2 separate regions of the Homo sapiens genome follow, and region 2 is linked to region 1. Evidence: promoter capture Hi-C in 16 types of primary human blood cells and fetal thymus (Javierre and others, 2016). All regions are on one chromosome and are shown on one strand. Each heading gives the region's core, a stretch centred on a gene start or on the middle of the fragment in contact. The rest is flanking DNA. Distances are from core to core; before and after follow the strand shown.

Evidence for each region. The method cuts DNA at HindIII sites, captures the fragments that hold promoters and counts their contacts. A CHiCAGO score of 5 or more calls a contact.
Region 2: the fragment with the promoter of GLE1 here is called in contact with a fragment that was not itself captured in region 1 in 1 of 17 cell types (naive CD4 T cells); the score reaches 5.0 in naive CD4 T cells.

Annotation. Positions count from the first base shown.
Region 1 is chr9:129,034,648-129,037,550 of GRCh38, reverse strand. MIGA2 (mitoguardin 2) reads right to left here and starts at 925. Exons shown (of 16, transcript NM_001329990.2): 1 at 870-925. RefSeq lists an enhancer at 341-470 and a silencer at 811-940. The HindIII fragment of the contact is 679 bases long and covers 1,050-1,728 here.
Region 2 is chr9:128,503,340-128,506,242 of GRCh38, reverse strand. It overlaps GLE1 (GLE1 RNA export mediator), which reads right to left and starts at 1,524. Exons shown (of 16, transcript NM_001003722.2): 1 at 1,339-1,524. The coding sequence starts at 1,437. RefSeq lists an enhancer at 1,124-1,283 and a silencer at 1,504-1,713. The HindIII fragment of the contact is 2,110 bases long and covers 207-2,316 here.

The DNA.
Region 1 (2,903 bases), core at 140-2,639:
GTGTCCGTCCCCCTGGCACCCTGTCCGTCCTCCAGGGCCTAAGCTGAGACCCCTCCACCTCCTCTCCACAATGAAAAGCCCACGGCAAGGTCCCCTACCAAATGGACACTTCTACTGCTGTGTAGGGCCTGGCCCCACTTGGGCAGCCATCTCTTGTGCCCTACAATCTTAGGCGGACACCTCCTCATTCCACCGTCACCACAGCACTTACAGCACCCTCAGCCTGGGTGCCTAAGCATATCATCCTACGCGCCTCCTCCCCTGCGCTAGACCACCCCACTAATGACTCTGGCCTGTGCACTCACTCATTCCGTCTGGACCCCAACAACGTCCCCGACTCCCTTGAGCCACTCTGCCCAGTCTCCTATTCACCCCATGCCGGACCCCTCAATAGTCCCACCATGCCGGGCACCGGGCATCCCCGCGTTGGACCTCAGCAATATCCCCGTCTTCAGAAATTGCTCACTCCACCCCAGGCATCTTGGGCAGCCCCTTCTTCTCTTGCCCCCACCCCGGAATATCATTGAAACTCACCCAGGTACCCTCTGGCGCCGCTCACGGCCCGCACGCCTGCTCCTTCCATCCCGGGTGCTCTCCCCGCCTCGGATCGGGTACCTGCGCGCCTGCTCCAATCCCCGCCACGTTCCAGGCCCGGGCATCACCTCCCTGACCCAAGTACCTTCTCGTTCCGCTCCCAAGCAAGGCACCCTCTCGCACCGTCCCCGGCCCGGGTACCCACTCATTCCAACCCCGACACCTTCCTGGTCCTGTTGGGCCCGGACACCTGCGCCTACTCGGTCCTCCGCTCAAGTCCCGGCCCTGCCGCGCTGCCCGCCCGCCTTGGGGGCTCGGCCGGGGCCGATACTCACCCGGGATGCCATCGCTGCGGAAGGGCAGCGTCTCCTTCCCCGGCGGCTGCGCAACCAAACCGGCCGCCCGGGGGCGTGGCCTAGCGCCAAGCCCCCACCCTCTTCTGGCCAATGAGCATCGCTGAGTCTCTCAGGGCCGCCGCAGCCTCTGGCCAATTAGGCGGGTCATGTGACCAAGCTTATATTCCGCCTCTCCCGCCCTCTTCCCCTCCTCCTAGTGCGGTTGAAGCGCGAAAGTGGTCTCTTCTCTTCTACTATTGGTCATTCAGATTAGATCGACATGGGCGGCTGGGTGGGGCGGGGCCATTCTTAAAGGGGCTGAAGCGGAGCAGTCAGACCTCCAAGGGGCTTTCTTGGAGTACGCCAAAGCAGGCTGAGCCCTCGTATTAGGATCCTCTATTCTTGTTCCACACAAGGACAAATCCTTCCCACTCTCCAAGCGCCCATTTTCAAATACTACCGCCCCTGACTTCCCGCAGCATGCTCTTATACTGTCGCCACTCTCCCCCTTGTTCTGGAGTTGTTTGCAAAAGTGCCAGGTCTCGCCGCTAGACAGTGTCTCTCTGAGAGCTGGAGTCAAGGGGTCTTCAGTTCTGGCCACCTATCTGGGTCTTACACTAAATACCAGGATTGAGATCAGGCCGACCTGAGATAGAATCAAGTGTTGCCACTTCAGCTCTCTAGAGCTTACCCCTCTATGAAATAGGGATGAGGCCGGGCGCGGTGGCTCACGCCTGTAATCCTAGCAGTTTGGGAGGCCGAGGTGGGTGGATCACGAGGTCAGGAGTTCGAGACCAGCCTGGCCAACCTGGTGAAACCCTGTCTCCACTAAAGATTAAAAAAAAAAATTAGCCAAGCTTGGTAGCACACACCTGTAATCCCAGCTACTCAGGAGGCTGAGGCAGGAGAATCTCTTGAACCCGGGAGGCAGAGGTTGCAGTGAGCTGAGATCCACCCATTGCACTCCAACCTGGGCCAAAGGGCGAGACTCCGTCTCAAAAAGAAAAAAAGAAATAGGGATAAAATCTTCCCTTTCCCAAATCATAGGGCTTTGGTGAGGATGGAAAGAGGACGGTGTATCAGCCCTTCCATAACTGCGAAGAGCTGGGCACAACTACGTTTTAAAATTGTAATCGTCGGCCGGTAGCAGTGGCTCATGCCTCTATTCCCAGCACTTTGGGAGGCTGAGGTGAGTGGATCACATGAGGTCAGGAGTTCGAGACCAGCCTGGCCAAAATGGTGAAAACCGGTCTCTACTAAAAATAAAAAAGCTAGCTGGGCGTGGTGGCACACACCTATAATCCCAGCTACTTGGGAGGCTGAGGCAGGAGAATTGCTTGAGCCGGGAGGAGGAGATTGCAGTTAACCAAGATCACGCCACTGCACTCCAGCCTGGGCAACAGAGCCAGACTCCATCTCAAAAAAAAAAAAAAAAAAAAAGCCCGGGAGCAGTGGCTCACGCCTGTAATCCCAGCACTTTGAGAGGCCAAGGCAGGTGGATCATGAGGTCAGGAGATCGAGACAATCCTGCCCAACATGGTGAAACCCCATCTTTACTAAAAATATAAAAATTAGCCCAGCATTGTGGCGTGTGCCTGTAGTCCCAGCTATTCAGGAGGCTGAGGCAGCAGAATCGCTTGAAACTGGGAGGTGGAGGTTGCAGTGAGCCGAGATTGCGCCACTGCACTCCAACCTGGGTGACAGAGCAAGACTCCATTTCAAAAAAAAAAAAAAAGGAAAATTACAATTGTCGGTAAAGCCACATTCCTTCATTCATTCAACTAATTAAGTGTGCCAATCCTTTGGCTGGACATGGGAGCTCAGTGGTGGACAAGAGACAGGTATGTGGTGGCACCAGGGAGCTCATTGTCTGGGGAGCAGATACTTAATCACAATCCCCTGTGATGGTTACTCTAATGGGGGAATGTGGGATACCAAGGAGATACCTGGGCTTGCCTGGGGAGGTGAAGGGCTCCAGAAAGAAAAGGGGTCCAAGGCCGGATGTGGTGGCTCACGCCTGTAATCCCAGCACTT
Region 2 (2,903 bases), core at 275-2,774, 530 kb after region 1:
CTCCCGAGTAGCTGGGATTACAGGCATGCACCACCATGCTCGGCTAATTTTGTATTTTTAGTAGAGATGCGGTTTCACCATGTTGGCCAGGCTGGTCGCGAACTCTTGACCTCAAGTGATCCGTCCCCCTCGGCCTCCCAACGTGCTGGGATTACGGGCCTGAGCCACCACGCCTAGCCTTGCATGTGATTATTTTGATACAAGCTTACAAAATCTGGGACATTTAAAATAAAATAAATAAATAATAAAAGTAATGGATTACAACTCACTGAATAAAATAGAAAGCACCTCCTTACAGTAGAATGCCAACTAACAAATGCAGAAGGAATAGCGGATATAAAGAAACAGGATCTGGCAACGTCATAGAGGTATCGATTCATGTGGAAAACATCAATGAATGCTAAAGCCATGGAGGATTAAGGTTTGCCCAGAAAAAAGGATACTGGTATTATTACTTCCCAACAATTACTAAGGGAAAAATGACGAATTTTAAACGGAGAGACCAGGCAGATAATAACGTAACCAGGTGATCAAGATTAGCATCACCAGTGTTGGGATGGGTTGACATCTGTGTGCCTCCTCATGTGACTTACTGAGAAAGCCATGGCATCATTTCTGTGGTATTCCTGCCAAGAATGCTTAACCTTGGTCTGGTGGTTTGAAAGCACATATGCTGGCAGTCAACCTACAGAATGTAAGGTCTGTATTTTTCAAAACTGTCAACAACATAAAAGACAGGGAAATACTTTAGGATTGTTTCCCAAGAAGTCTGAGGATGCAGGACAACGCCTTATCTGTAGCTAACTAGCAGCGACTCGGGAATGGGAGCTCGGCCTTAACTCTCCACATCCCTCCACTTCTCGCGCAGAGCTTTGCAAATGCTAGGTACGGTGACCACGCCCCCATTCACTTTCCAGGTCTGCCAAATCAATCTAAAAATTTGGTCATTTCACTAGTAGCAATGGATTAGGTCGTGTCAATCGTTCGTCGCAAACTCTAGAGCTCCCAGCACATGAGACATACAGTAAGTTAACTGAACCTGGGGCCGAGATTGCTTTGACAACAGCAGAACGGAGAAGGCGCCCAACTGGCGGAGGGTAGCAATGAAGCCTTCAGAGCGCGGGGCACCTGTGAAGTCAGGGGAGCTCCCCGAAACGCTAAAATAGGCTGAAGAGGACAGAAACCCCAGGACAGAGGGATGTACACACAGAAGTCAAGAAATAAATGCAGGTTGTTAGACTGCACGGGTTCCCGGGAGCAGAACGTGCCAACGGCTAGGGAGAAGGTTTCGGTCGCGAGGGGCCGGAAAGGCCTACGTCCTCCGGGGCCACCGCTCACCTCGCGCCGCAGCAGCCAGTCGCGGTAGTAGCAAAGGCGACCTTTGTCGGAACTGCGTAGGGCCTTCAAGGTCTCCCAGCAGCGACCCTCAGACGGCATGGTTGGCTAAGGGGCAGCTTCTCTGACGCCCCCCTTCTGACCAAACAAGCCCTCGAATCAGCCGCCGGGAAGGCCACACAGGCTTCTGCTTCCGGGACGCGCGCGCAGCACAGCCCCGCCCCTAACGCCTGCACGCCCCACCTCCGGCGACGCTCCCGCGTTCCCGCCCTCCCACCAGTGCGCCTGCGCGCAGGGCTTGGCTGTCGGGGCACGTTCCGCAGAGGTAACCACCGCTCCCAATCCCCGGGGCTGCTGAAAATTTGTCTGTGCCTTGAGACTGTGCAGAAACTGGAACCCTCATACACTGCTCATGGGACTGTAAAATGAAGCACCTGCTGTGGAAGACAGTCTGGCAGTTCCTCAAAAGGTTAAACAATTACCATTTGACCCAGCAATTCTCCTAGGTAAATATATATATATATATAAAATACGCCAAAGAAATGAAACCTATGTATATATAAAAACTTGTCCATGAATGTTCACAGCAGTGTTATTCATAATAGCCAAAAAGTGAAAGCAACCCAAACGTCCATCCATTGGTGAATGGATAAATAAAATATAGTACTATGTGCGCGGTTCCCGAGTTCCCCCGCTTTCTGTGCACTGACCAAGTATCAGAGTGCCTTGACCGCCCTGTGACCCAGCCAGCTGCAAGTTTTTTCCTGCAGACTTGCAACCAAACACGGGCCTTGCATATCCCTAGGCACTAAGGATATCTAGGTTATTGCCCAAAACGCTGAAACTGACCCCTGCTTTTAGCCAAATTCCATAAACCCTCATATAAACTTCATACCCTGACCCCTCGCTGGGGATGTACCTAGGTGAAACACCGCTTCTCTCTGTCTGTCGCGAGAATTGCTGCAGCCCACTCTGTAAGCTTCCCTAATAAATGTTTTGGGTTTAATGCTGCTTTTTTGAGACAGAGTCTTGCTCTGTCCCCCAGGCTGGAGTACAGTGGCTCGATCTCGGCTCACTGCAACCTCCGCCTCCCGGGTTCAAGCGATTCTCCTGCCTCAGCTCCCCGTGTAGCTGGGACTACACGCGCCAGCCACCACGCCCAGCTATTTTGTATTTTTAGCAGAGGCGGGGTTTCACCATGTTGGTCAGGCTGGTCTCGAACTCCTGACCTCAGTTGATCCACCCACCTCGACCTCCCAAAGCGTTGGGATTACAGGCATGAGCCACTGCGCCCGGCCATAGTGCTTCTTTGGAATCCCAACCAGCCCTGTTTGGCAGGAGGAAACACCACATCTATATAATGGAATGTTATGGGGCCATAAAAATAAAGTGCTGATGATACGCTGCAACATCAATCTTGAAAGCATTATGCTGAGAGAAGCCAGTCATGAATGGCCACATGTTGGACAATTCCACTTATGTGAAATATCCAGAAGAGACAAATCTATAGAGCCAGAGAAACTTTATGACTAGTTGCCAGGGGCTGGGGGAGGGGAATGGGGAGTGAC